Regions from separate parts of the Homo sapiens genome. Here regions 2, 3, 4 and 5 are each linked to region 1. The links are contacts of gene promoters, found by promoter capture Hi-C in blood cells and fetal thymus (Javierre and others, 2016). All regions are on one chromosome and are shown on one strand. The core of a region is centred on a gene start or on the middle of the fragment in contact, and the rest is flanking DNA. Distances in the headings are between cores, read along the strand shown. Region 1 holds the start of PPM1F (protein phosphatase, Mg2+/Mn2+ dependent 1F). Region 2 overlaps YPEL1 (yippee like 1). Region 3 overlaps YPEL1 (yippee like 1). Region 4 overlaps MAPK1 (mitogen-activated protein kinase 1). Region 5 overlaps MAPK1 (mitogen-activated protein kinase 1).

The links. Contacts are between HindIII fragments. The CHiCAGO score rates a contact against its expected background, and 5 or more counts as called.
Region 2: a contact is called between a fragment that was not itself captured here and the fragment with the promoter of PPM1F in region 1, in 17 of 17 cell types (endothelial precursors, M2 macrophages, M1 macrophages and 14 more). The highest score is 16.5, in endothelial precursors.
Region 3: a fragment that was not itself captured here is called in contact with the fragment with the promoter of PPM1F in region 1 in 8 of 17 cell types (neutrophils, endothelial precursors, M0 macrophages and 5 more); the score reaches 9.9 in neutrophils.
Region 4: a contact is called between a fragment that was not itself captured here and the fragment with the promoter of PPM1F in region 1, in 4 of 17 cell types (neutrophils, M1 macrophages, endothelial precursors and 1 more). The highest score is 6.4, in neutrophils.
Region 5: a fragment that was not itself captured here is called in contact with the fragment with the promoter of PPM1F in region 1 in 1 of 17 cell types (neutrophils); the score reaches 6.5 in neutrophils.

Annotation. Positions count from the first base shown.
Region 1 is chr22:21,951,569-21,954,110 of GRCh38, forward strand. PPM1F (protein phosphatase, Mg2+/Mn2+ dependent 1F) reads right to left here and starts at 1,280. Exons shown (of 8, transcript NM_014634.4): 1 at 1,224-1,280. RefSeq lists enhancers at 433-502, 549-1,069 and a silencer at 1,063-1,472. The HindIII fragment of the contact is 22,373 bases long and covers 1-2,542 here.
Region 2 is chr22:21,709,209-21,711,750 of GRCh38, forward strand. YPEL1 (yippee like 1) reads right to left here. Exons shown (of 5, transcript NM_013313.5): 2 at 1,420-1,700. The coding sequence starts at 1,536. Among named protein-coding and RNA genes, the nearest start is that of YPEL1, 25 kb to the right of the region's middle. RefSeq lists an enhancer at 835-2,034. The HindIII fragment of the contact is 2,601 bases long and covers 1-2,542 here.
Region 3 is chr22:21,729,350-21,731,891 of GRCh38, forward strand. The region is part of intron 1 of YPEL1 (yippee like 1); the gene reads right to left. Among named protein-coding and RNA genes, the nearest start is that of YPEL1, 5.2 kb to the right of the region's middle. RefSeq lists a silencer at 658-845. The HindIII fragment of the contact is 9,152 bases long and covers 1-2,542 here.
Region 4 is chr22:21,759,900-21,762,441 of GRCh38, forward strand. MAPK1 (mitogen-activated protein kinase 1) reads right to left here. Exons shown (of 9, transcript NM_002745.5): 9 at 1-2,542. Among named protein-coding and RNA genes, the nearest start is that of YPEL1, 25 kb to the left of the region's middle. The HindIII fragment of the contact is 819 bases long and covers 842-1,660 here.
Region 5 is chr22:21,820,495-21,823,036 of GRCh38, forward strand. All of the region lies in intron 1 of MAPK1 (mitogen-activated protein kinase 1), which reads right to left. Among named protein-coding and RNA genes, the nearest start is that of MAPK1, 46 kb to the right of the region's middle. The HindIII fragment of the contact is 3,359 bases long and covers 1-2,542 here.

The DNA of each region.
Region 1 (2,542 bases), core at 30-2,529:
ACTCTTGACCTCAGGTGATATGCCTGCCTCGGCCTCCCAAAGTGCTGGGATTACAGGTATGAGCCACCGCGCCCGGCCTTCAGGGGGTATCTTAAAGGAATTCCACAAATGAACTTGTGTAGAGGTTCATGGCTTTCAGAAATGCATTCGTTTTGTTTACCTCTCACAACTACGCTGAGAAGTACATACTGTCAGGCTACACTGCAGATGAAGAAATAGGTTATAGGAGGGCAAGCACCCATTTAAGGTCTCACACAGGTGAAAGGGCAAAGCGAACTCAATCAAGGTCTCTGGATGCCCAATGCCTTTGGTATTTCCACCTCGCGTGCAGGAGGAAAAGAGCGAAATTTGACAACAGAAGAGACTGGAGATGGCCTCAGAGTGCTGGCCGGCCCCACTTTCTATCCCCCGTGGTGAGAGCTCAGCTGGGCCCAGAGAACTTGTCCCGGGGAATGCCACCACGACATGTGTGACTCTGTCCCGCAGGGTGGAAGGCTTCGAAGGAGCCCGCCACCATGCAGTGGGCCTCACTGTGTGTCAAGCGCTGTGCCGAAATCCCTGCAGCCGGAGCCAGTTCTTCCTGTTGTACAGACAGGTTCAGGGGCTTGCCTGACCGAACCCAGCGGCAATGTGCCCGGCCTCCGCGCCTGAGGCTCTGGCTCACAGACCTGTGGCTGAAGCAGCTGCAGCCCGAGCACTTGTGCAGCTGACGCTCGCTTCACGGACGCTTGGGAGGCCGCGGAGCCGGGGGCCATCAGGCAGACTGGGCCCCTGAAGGTGCAGGGACTGGGGGGATATGGGGCAACGTGCCGGCCCAGAGGCTCCTGGGGGGTGGGGAGAGGCCAAATCTCGGAAAATGGGGCGCGTCCCCCTCAGCACCCGATTCTGCCTCATAGCCCTCGGTCCCTACCAGGCCCTCGGCTCGGCCACACCCCCGCCTGCCCCCCAGTTCTGCCCCCTTGGCTCCCCAGCCCCCCAACTCCCAGCCTCGGGTTCCTCATGTCCGCAGCGGCCCCTCTTGCTCCTCGGCCCCCCGCACTGCACCCCCGCACCCTTTCGGTGCACCCATGTGAGCCTCGTCTCGGCCTCCTTGCCTCCCCAGCCCTCTGATTCCACCCCTCCGGTTCCTCGGTCCCATTTCACCCCTGTGCGCCTTGGGCGCTCGCCTGACCCTCGTCCCAGCCCCGTCAGCCCTCTAATCCCGTCCCCCCCGGCCTCCTCACCCCTGGTCTCCGCGGGCCTCAGCTGTCTCCTCGCGGCTCCGTGTCCCGCAAGCTGCTGCCGGCCGGCCCCGCCCACTTCCCGTCCCTGGCCGCCGCGGGCGCCGCGGGCGCCGCGCAGGCGCAGTCGGGCCTCCAGGCTGGCGGGGCCGGACCTCTGCTGCCCCCTGGCGGCTACGTGGACGGTGACTGCGGCCCTTTAGTGGTAGGCGAACTGCGGCTCCACCTGGGCTCCGGAGCCGCCCCAGTCACCAGCCTCTTGCTTCTCTTCTGCAGCTTTGGGTGGGCGGCTGGATGGGGAAAGCAATCCCTAGGTCACAGCGCCCAGAAATTAAGCAACTTCTGCCGTCAATAGCTGGTAAGTGACAGAGCAGGGATGCAAACCCAGACTGCCCAGGCAGGCTCATCCGTCCGGGAAGGAGGCACAGTCCCAGGCTCATTATGAGTTGTTTGTTTCCACAAACGTTGAGGCTTTTGTTATCTTTCCGTTCTGGAGGTCAGAAGTCCACTTAGCCTCAGTGGGCGAAGATCCAGGGATCGCCAGAATGCGTTCCTTTCTGAGGATTCTAGGGGAGAAACTGTTCCCCTGCCTTTTCCAGCTCCTAAGGGCTCCCTGCATACCTTGGCTCGTGGCCCCTTCCTACAGCCTCGAAGCCAGCAATGGCCAGTTGAGCCTTTCTCACACTGCCACCTCTGGTTCCCTCCTCTGCTTCCTTCTGCTACTTCTAAAGACCCTCCTGATGCCATTGGGCCCACCCAGATAGTCCAGCATCATCTCTCTAAATCAGTTGATTAGCAACCTTAATTCCCCTTTGCCCCTTATTATTATTATTATTTTTTTTTGACACGGAGTCTCACCCTGTCACCCAGGCTGTACTGCAGTGGCATGACCTCGACTCACTGCAACCTCTGCCTCCCTGGTTCAAGCGATTTTCCTGCCTCAGCCTCCCGAGTAGCTGGGACTGCAGGCACGCACCACCATGCCCGGCTAATTTTTTTTGTATTTTTAGTAGAGATGGGGTTTCACCATGTTGGTCAGGCTGGTCTCAAACTCCTGACCTCAAATGATCTGCCTGCCTCGGCCTCCCAAAGTGCTGGGATTACAGTACAGGCGTGAGCCACTATGCCGGGTCTGCCATGTAATCTAACACAGGCACAGGTATAGGACATGAACATCTCTGAAGGGCCATTTTTCTGCCAACACAGAGGCTCTTGAAAATATTCTTTTTCTCTCTTTTTAGAGACAAGCTCCTTCTCTGGTGCCCACACTGGAGTGCAGTGGCATGATCACAGCTCACTGCAGCCTCAAACTCCTGGGCTCA
Region 2 (2,542 bases), core at 27-2,526, 240 kb before region 1:
CCCAGAGCAGCTCCGCCTCTCATTACCTCATGTCATTTTACACACTAAGCCTACCTCAGAAAACACCGAGGAAATGGGGTGCCTGGCTCCTTCCACTTCTCACCTCACACTTCCCAGTGCACACAGGAGCCCCAGAGGCAATGAGAGAGCAGAAACTCTGCCTCGTTCAACAGTTTCTATCTCAGATGATGAACAGAAATGAGGAGCCTCTCACTATTACCTACTGAAAATACAAGCAGGTAAATGTTCTTCTCTTGAGTTAAACAGGAAACCTAAGAGATTCCTGGCTGGGCGTGGTGACTCACACCTATAATCCCAGCACTTTGGGAGGCCAAGGCAGGAGGATCGCTTGAGGCCAGGAGTACAAGACCAGCCTTGGCAACATGGTAAAACCCTGTCTCTACAAGAAAAAATAAAAGTAAATAAAATACCTATTTAAAAAAAGAAGAAAAGATTTCTGAAAGGCACAACTTCCTGACAAACTTTGTTCCCAAAGTGGTCGTGACCTGTGAAGATGGGGAGACGTCATGACCTGAGGATGGGGGGAGGTCATGGCCTGTGAGGATGGGGGGAGGTCATGACCTATAAGGATGAGTGGAGGTAATGATCCGTGAGGATGGGTGCAAGTCATGAATTGAGCATGGGGGAGGTCATGACCTGTGAGGATGTGGGAGGTCATGACCTGAGGATCGGTGGTCATGACGTATGAGGATGCGGGGAGTTCATGACCTGAGGCTGGGGGGATGTCATGACCTGAGGATGGGTGGAGAACACTGTCATTCCGACTGAGCATCAGCTCCTCCATGATGTTTGGCCTGTTTAAATGTTCACAACTGGTTGATGATCAACGCCACACACTGCTAATGAGGAGCTCAGCACAGTAAGGAGGGGCCAGGGGATCTTGTTTACATCTTCAAGGCTGCTCATGGGTTCTATGCACAGAGACCAGCCAGAGCTTCACCCAGGGCTCCTACACAACCGACAAACGCAGCCACACCCTCTGGGGCATTTTTCTGAGCAACCCCTTTCCTTCTTAACCATGCTGAGTTTTTAAAATGTCTTAATACCCTTATTATTAAACCATTTCCACAGATTTTTCTAGACTTCTTTTGCTCATTCAGTCCTCTCTGGCTTTCTGCTGTGAGTAACAAGTGATTCACCTTGCCCCTCGTAATCCCTGGGAGTGCCAGCTGCCTGGCCCTGGAAAACCGCCCACCATGCCAGGATCACATCTGAGATCGTGGCACAGCCACACTTAACCATGCACAAAACGCTCACCAATGCTGCCTAGAAGGCTCTAGACGTTCAGGACACAGCAGACTCAGGAAGTCATGTGATGCTTAAATATTCTTCCACTATGTAGGTACCACAATGACAGATAATCATTGTGCCATCAATTTTTTGGCATAAGCCACTTGCCTTGGAGATGAGCTCGTCATGATTGGCCAGGTGTGCTCTGCAGTGGATACAGCTGTACGTTCGGTGACAGTTCGGCAGATACGCTTGGAAAGTTTTGGACTTTGTCATTTTCACCATCTCTCCTGGGCACTCCTCACTCAGCTCAGGGCTGGTTCTGGAAGAACCGTGGCTCTGCTGGCCTCTCTGACAAAAGCAACACTGGAAAATGCACGCAAGAGCCGTCGTTGTCCAGGAGGGCGTGTGGCACTGTCCACACAGCTGGGACGAGAGAAAAACGTAACCTGCCAACCAATCAGACAAAGTGGTGGGTTACAGAGAGAACATGCGTGTGAAGCAGGTACATATGGGATTCATGTGTTGTGAAGCAACACGCGGGGTGGGGGGGTGGCAGGACTAGAATTTTTTTTTTTTTTTGAGATGGAGTCTCACTCTGTTGCCCAGGCTGGAGTGCAGTGGCGCAATCTCAGCTCGCTGCAACCTCCTCCTCCTGGGTTCAAGCGATTCTTCTACCTCAGCCTCTGAGTAGCTGGGATTACAGGAACACGCCACCAAGCCTGGCCTCCCAAAGTGCTGGGATTACAAGCACCACTGCGCCTGACCAAGATCCAACTCTTTAGTATCAATTGTAGACAAAATGAACACTGACACCATGCCACTGCTTAACCACTTTACATTTAGTTGGAAGTGAAAAAATGAACTCCTTTTACATGCAAATAATTTGAGAAAAACATTGATTCAAATTCTTCTTATACCAGGTTTGGCTTTGGAAACATGAAAGGAGAGGCAGAACCAAGACGCCCGGTGAGTGGGCCCGGTGGCAGGGCTGGATGCACCCCACCCCGAATCCGGGAATTCACCACGCAGAGCACCAGGACATTGAGGAATGTGAGTGATGGATCCAGTATTATTTAATCTTTAAGAAATTCCAGTCCTGAAATAAACCCTTATGTATGGTCACATGATCTTCAACAGGGTGTCAAGACCATTCAATGGGGAAAGGACAGTCTTTCAACAAATGGTGTCACAACAACTGGATATCCACCTGCAAAAATATAAAGTTGGACTCTTACCTAACACCGTATACAAATTAACTCAAAATAAAAGACCTAAATGTGAGAGCTAA
Region 3 (2,542 bases), core at 27-2,526, 220 kb before region 1:
TAATCCCAGTGTTTTGGGAGGCCAAGGTGGGAAGATTACTTGAGGCCAGGAGTTCAAGATCAGCCTGGCCAACACAGCAAGACCCCCATCTCTAAAAAAAAAAAAAAAAATGAGCTGGGTGTGCACCTGTAGTCCCAGCTACTTGGGAGGCTGAGATGGGAGGATCACTTGAGGCCAGGAGGTCAAGGTTGCTGTGAGCCATGATCACACCACTGCACTCCAGGCTGGGCGACAGAGCGAGACAGTCTCTACAAATAATAAATTAAATTTAAAAATTTAAGAAGTTGACAACACCACTGGTGAAGGTGCTCTGTGATCCAGCCATTTGGCAACACCCACAACATTCCTAGGAGCACAGCCCTGGATGGGGGTTCATCTGGGGAGTTCACCTTTGGCTGATGCACATGTGCAAAATAACTGGATAAAAGCAGTTATTACCTGAAATAACAAAATATCATCCTATAATAATACTGCCTGTAATAAAAGATTAGAAACCACCTCAAGTTTAACCAATAGAGGCTAGCACGGTGGCTCACATCTGTAATCCCAGCACTTTAGGAGGCCGAGATGGGCAGATCACCTGAGGTCTGGAGATCGAGACCAGCCTGGCCAACCAACATGGTGAAACCTCGTCTCTACTAAAAATACAAAAATTAGCTCGGTGTGGTGGTGGGCACCTTTAGTCTCAGCTACTAGGGAGGCTGAGGCGGGAGAACTGCTTGAACCCGGGAGGCAGAGGTTGTGGTGAGCCAAGATTGTGCCACTGTACTCCAGCCTGGGCAACAGAGCGAGACTCCTTCTCAACAAAAGCAACAACAACAACAAAGTTTAACCAAAAGAGACTGGCCAAATGCACTGATAAACACACATCAGGGACATTTCCATCATGGGGCTTCCAGAGTCTCGCTCTGTCTCCCAGGCTGGAGTGCAGTAGCACGATCTTGGCTCACTGCAGCCTCCGCCTCCTGGATTCAAGCAATTCTTGTGCCTCAGTCTCCCAAATAGCTGGGACTACAGGCACCTCCCACCATGCCTGGCTAAGTTTGTATTTTTAGTAGAGATGGGGTTTCACCATGTTGGCCAGGCTTGCCTTGAACTCCTGACCTCAAGTGATCCACCCGCCTTGGCCTCCCAAAGTGTTGGGATTACAGGCGTGAGCTACAGCATCTGGCCCACACTGACTATTCAAACTCTCACATAGTACATGAAGTCACAGGTGTGGAAAGGTCTGGAAAAATTTACAACAAAGGGCAACAGCATGGGTACAATTTGCCTTTGGCAATTCCAGCTTCCATCCACACACATCCACTTCCTCCCTACTTGCATTACAGGAGGAAAAGCTCCCCTCCACATTTCAGGAACTGCAGCCTAGGTGCACAATGGGACTCACTGACAGCATCAAACCACCTATATGGCTGCCCTGAGACAAAGCTCCATGGCCCTCTGTAGACTCCCCACCAGCCCCTGCTCTCTGGGGAACCCAAGGGGCCTGGCTCCTCCATTGCCCAGTGGCCCCAGGTGCCTCGGCCCTCCAGGCTCTCTCCTCCATCTCTCCTCCCACCTGTGCTCAAGTACTACCTCTACCACCTCTCCTGAGACTACTGATAATGTGCTTGTACTGAGCGCTTCTTTTCAAAGAACCTGTACTACATTTTTTTTTCTACCATTAGTAACAAAGTTTCCCACAACCAAGGCCCTGGGACACATCCCAGTAGAGGTGCTTTCTTGCTAACAACAAGAAGAGGGGGCTGTGCATGGTGACTCATGCCTGTAATCCCAGCACTTTAAGAGGCCAAGGTGGGAGGATCATCTGAGGTCAGGAGTTCGAGACCAGCCTGGGCAACATGGCGAAAACCCGTCTCTAAAAAAAAATTTAAAAATTAACCAGGTGTGGTGGCACGTGCCTGTCGTCCCAGCTACTCGGGAGGCTGAGGTGATCGCCACTGCACTCCAGCCTGGATGACAGAGTGAGACCCTGTGTCAAAAAAAAAAAAGAAAGAAAAGGGGAGGTGTAGGAACTATGTGCAACACTAGCCTTGTTAGGTTGAAAGAGTGGGTACCACACCCAGAAGACTGGATTGAGATAGAAGAAAAGAGGTTGAGAATCTTAAAAACTACTTTATTTACCCTCATGCTAAATAAAGTCTCATCAGACATTAAAGGCCCTGTCTTGGGGCAAGAGAAGGGGGGAAAAAAAAAAAAAAAAACAGATACACAAAGAGGAACCAGAAAAGGTGAGGGGGAAGCGTTTGGGTGGCGGGGGTATATGCCAATGCTGCTGAGAAGGCAGGTGGCACCACGAGGGAGGGAGTAGGTGAGGTTTGGCAACAGGGATGTCATCACCCCCAGGACAAAGGTGAAAGAGGGTCTGACTTGCTTTGAGAGGCTTCCCAGGCTTTGATGCAAAATGTGCCACGTGTTTGTTGGCTCTGGGACCTGAAGCCAAGTTCTGCTACCTTCTTTGTAAAGTGGGGTAACGTGCAATTTACAGGGCAGTCAGAGTCACATGAGATGTTAAGGGGGATGATCCTTGGGCACAGTT
Region 4 (2,542 bases), core at 1-2,500, 190 kb before region 1:
AACACCACATCCAAAACATTTTCCAGTATCTTTGTTTTGTAAATAAGTCATTACATAATGCCCAATATTGATAAGAACCAAATGTCCAAGAAATCCTATCTTTATGACTTCTTGCTCTGAAAAAAGGGGTTGCCCAGGATGTCTGCCCAGCAGTGGGGTTGCAGAAGTTCAGGAGGATGAGGAGATGGGCGTGGGCACCGCCTACCCCCCCCCCCACAGGTGAAGGTCTGAAGAACCACCTGGAGAACCCTAGGAGCACTGACATCCCCATTCAACTCGAGGAACAGCTCACAGCCCTAACACAAGTTACCACATGCAGAGCAAATCTGGAAGACATCTGGGGAACATAACGAAGGACTAGACAATTTCACGTTTTCACAGATGAAACTGCAATTAAACTATACATGCACGGTGCTGTGTTATTTTGGTAATACAGGGACACAATTTAATGATTCTAAGGATTTTTTTGTAGTTTTTTTTTTTTACAAGTCAGGTGCCATAAACATTCAAATAATCCATCTTTTAAAAAGTACGTTTACAACATCAAAAGAATTAAGATGAAATATAAACCTTTCTACTTACAATTTTTATACAGATTAACCAAATCACAAATACCACAAATAAATGTTAATGTTAAATTGTAACAATATAATGAATAAACATTCAGATTCTTAATAAAATCTTCCTTTAACATTTTTTAACTTACCATTATACTAAATAATCTATGCAGAATTTTGGGGTACAATACCAAGAAGGCACCAACAGTACAAAGCAGATACAAAGCAGTTTCAGAACTTTCTTGAGTGCTCTACACGCATAAACAGCACAAGAAAAGGCAACAAGCTTTAGGTAAACCTGGTGCAACCCTGGAGGACTTGCTCTGGATTTCCATTTGTTTCTGACCCATCATGTCAAGGTGGATGACGTAAGAGAAACCACATATTCACTGTTATAGCTTCTCATCTGCACCACAGGAGTATCATGTTTCAAACACCAGCATAACAATTTTAAAGCACAAATGCTTTAAAAATGTATAAGCAAAAGGATTGCTCAGATTTTCAAAACCATTACATTTACAAAAATATTTCCCTTAAACTTGGGATTGCTCCAAAACATTGATTTACAAATATAAAAGTATTATGGAAGGACCCAAAGCATGTGTGCGTATGTATGTGTGTATTAACATACTGTTACCATACTATATAAAAGTTACCAATTTAAAAACCATATTAACATATAAGCAAATAAAGAGAAAACAGTTTCCTCTGAATGGCTGAAATATTACGTGGCATGTGGTTGGGTAGTTTACTTTTGTGATTCCTTAGAGAAAACCACTGGTGAGCTACATGTAGCTTCTCAAAGCTACTGGTTACCTCTACACCCACTGCCTGTGCCCAAGAGCAGAAGGAATGAGTGTGCACACACCACACACTGTGCACTGCACACACAATACAGTATTCTTCTACCCAGATGCCACAATGTCTGCGTATCTCTGCTAGCTTTGAGGACCTGTGTCAGGACAGAGTCCTCATGATTAGTTCTTTCAATTCCATCCCACTGGCTTGTTCAGTATTTCTTTTATACTAAATGAAAGGACTGGAATGTTTCAGCAGGAATTTTTTGCTTACATTTTAGACACCAAAAAAGCTATTAGTCTGAAAGCTTATTTGAACATACAAATAGTGGAGGTGCTGTTCCGTGTCACTAATATGAATTAAGATGACCTAATCTGTACATTTTTACAAATGTAAGAAGAGCCAAAATGATGCATCTACTACACATGATAGCTAGCGCTTTTCATAGGTACCTTGGTTAGGACCATTCTCTGCCCAGTTACATTATGTTTGGCATGATTAATAAAAAGCACACAACTTATGGCTACAATGATTCTAGAATGAAGTTAGTGGTTTCATGCCAATCTGACTCCACAGTACCAGGAAGGGGAATGGGAAGGAGCTCACAGTCTCCAGATGTTAGTAGCCAAGGATATGGTTTTCTATTTAGAAGAGGACTCCAAATTAACCTTATAATAGTAACTTTCCATTTAAAAAGAAACAAGAGTAATAAAACTGTCAATGCTTTTTTATAAATGAAAACTGACTAATCAGTGTTATCCGGTAACAGTCACATTTCTGTGTCCCGTCAATGCTGTGTGGACCTTCAGACGGCAGCTCTGAGCACGCAAGTGAAAAGCGCGTATTTCAGGGCAAGAATAGAGATGTGGGTCTGTTTTCCGAGGATGAGCCAGCTATCCTTCCTCAGCCACAGGAGTGGTGAGCGTGAGCACCCTGGGCTGGGTGGTGAGGACTGCGTACTGTGGGGCGGCCCTTCCCAACTCTTGGCTGTGCCCAGCAGCACCTCTGGGGCACAAGGGCAGGCCCTCTTTAGAGAGAACCAGGGAATCCAACCTGAGATGTCGGGGCTTCTTTGTTAGGGTTTGACAGAATATTTGAGACCTAAGATTGTGAATAAAGGAACATGACAGCATCGATTCTCTGCCGAGCAGAGGTAAAAAGGACCCTACAGAAGTACCTTTCTAACT
Region 5 (2,542 bases), core at 24-2,523, 130 kb before region 1:
TGTATTTTTAGTAGAGACGGGGTTTCACCATGTTCGTCAGGCTGGTCTTGAACTCCTGACCTTGTGATTCGCCCGCCTCAGCCTCCCAAAGTGCTGGGATTACAGGCATGAGCCACTGCGCCCGCCCGTCTCCTCCTTTCAACACCATATTTACTACCGTGTGAAAAGCAACAAATGTTAATATGGTTAATGCAATACACAGTACTTTAAAGTCTTGTTTCTTCCTATGTGAAGACTTCCGTTTTTGGTGTATTTTATATGAGGCAGACATATACACTCATTAGCAATTTAAGTACATTAAAGGTATTAAAAAACAGAATTCTTTTTTTTTTTTTTTTTTGAGACGGAGTCTCGCTGTGTCTCCCAAGGTTGGAGTGCAGTGGCGCGATCTCGGCTCACTGCAAGCTCCGCCTCCCAGGTTCATGCCATTCTCCTGCCTCAGCCTCCCAAGTAGCTGGGACTACAGGCGCCCGCCAACACGCCCGGCTAATTTTTTGTATTTTTAGTAGAAACGGGGTTTCACCGTGTTAGCCAAGATGGTCTCGATCTCCTGACCTCGTGATCCGCCCGTCTCGGCCTCCCAAAGTGCTAGGATTACAGGCGTGAGCCACCGCGCCCGGCCAAAAAACAGAATTCTTAGGAGCTTGAGGATTCTGTTTCACAAAAAAAGACTGACAGTACTCGAAATCAATCTTATTATAGATTGGTGGGGTTTGTGATTAAGTATGAAGAATAAGAAATGTCCATGTCTGCCCATGAAATCATTTTCTCACTATGCTCTGATTAAAACTGACAAACATTTAAACTGAGATTAAAAATAAATTCTACACATTAATCATTTACGCATTCACTTTAAACTTGCTTACACTTACTGATAATACTGCTTTGTCTTAGTTTATAGATGTATATTACTCAAAATATTTACAGTTCATTTATTGGGAACCAGGTAATGATGGTATTGAAAAGAAGTTATGAACAATTCTCACTTAATAATACCTACAATTTATTGAGTGTTTATTATCTGTCAGGCTCTGCTCTATGTTAGTATCTGTGGACCTCTCTCTAAGAAGGTGGTATTTAATGGTGCCTTGAAAAGCAGGTAGGATTTTAATAGGCAGCACACGAAAAAGCACTTAAGGAAGAAGGAGCTACAGAAGCTGAAGCACGGAAGGCTGGGTACCAGGTGCTGGATAGTTCAATATGGCTGGAGTTTACACCTGTCCAGGGGAAGAACAAAAGGTGATGTTACTAAAAAGCTGAGAAATCTGTACTTTACTTCAATAACAGAAGATGAAGAGTCTGGATGTGGTGGCTCATGCCTGTAATCCCAGCACTTTGGGAGGCTGAGGCAGGTGGACCACCTGAGGTCAGGAGTTCAAGACCAGCCTGGCCAACATGGTGAAACCCTGTATCTACTAAAAACACAAAAATTAGGCATGGTTGTGCGTGCCTGTAATCCCAGCTACTTGGGAGGCTGAGGCAGGAGCATCACTTGAACCCAGAAGGCGGTGGCTGCAGTGAGCCAAGATCATGCCATTGCACTCCAGCCTGGGTGACAGAGTGAGACTCTGTCTCAGGGAAGGCAGGGGAGGGGAGGGGAGGGGAAGGGAATCAGAAACACAGGTATAGAACTGACTGAAGGCCAGGCGTGGTGGCTCACGCCTGTAATCCCAAGCACTTTGGGAGGCTAAGGCAGGTGGATCACCTGGAGTCAGGAGTTTAAGACCAGCATGACCAACATGGTGAAACCCTGTCTCTACCAAAAATACAAAAATTAGCCAGGCACGTAGTGGCAGGCTCCTGTAATTCTAGCTACCTGGGAGGCTGAGGCAGAAGAACTGCTTGAACCCAGGAGGTGGAGGGTGCAGTGAACCGAGATCGTGCCACTGCACTCCAGCCTGGGCGACAGAGCAAAACTCCATTTCAAAAAGGAAAAAAAAAGAAAAAAAAAACTGACTAAAGAGGCTAAAACTAGACATAGGGAGACCAGTTATAATTCTTGAAATATCTATACCCATCAACACTTTGAAATTACAGTGCTTGTTAGACCTGCTGCCTGATCTTGCTATTTACGGCATTAGTAAAGAAGCACATATAAAGACTTCTTAATTTTTCAAAAGTGGTATTTCAGCATAACTGATTCCCTTTGTAATCTCACATTTTATTTTATTCATTTAAAATATTAATCTGAAAAGGAGCCACAAGTTTCACCAACTGCCTAAAGGATTCACGTCATTAAAAAAAAAAAAAAAAGATGAGAACTCTTGTTATAAGGGCAATTTATAGATTCAGTGGAAATGGCAGAGACAGGAAACTAGTACAGAAGTTTGTATTCAAGAGAAAAAAAACGTCAGTTTGGGATCGTAAAGGATGTGCATCAAATAACTTTAAAAACATTTGAATGTTAAAGTTAATTTTATTTATCAAATAATCACCTACATTATGTTAAGCACTGTGGATAAAGCAGTAAAAATATAAAGCTCTCTGCCCTCATAAACTATGAGAGGAGATAGACATAGAGGCTGGGTGCAGTGGCTCATGC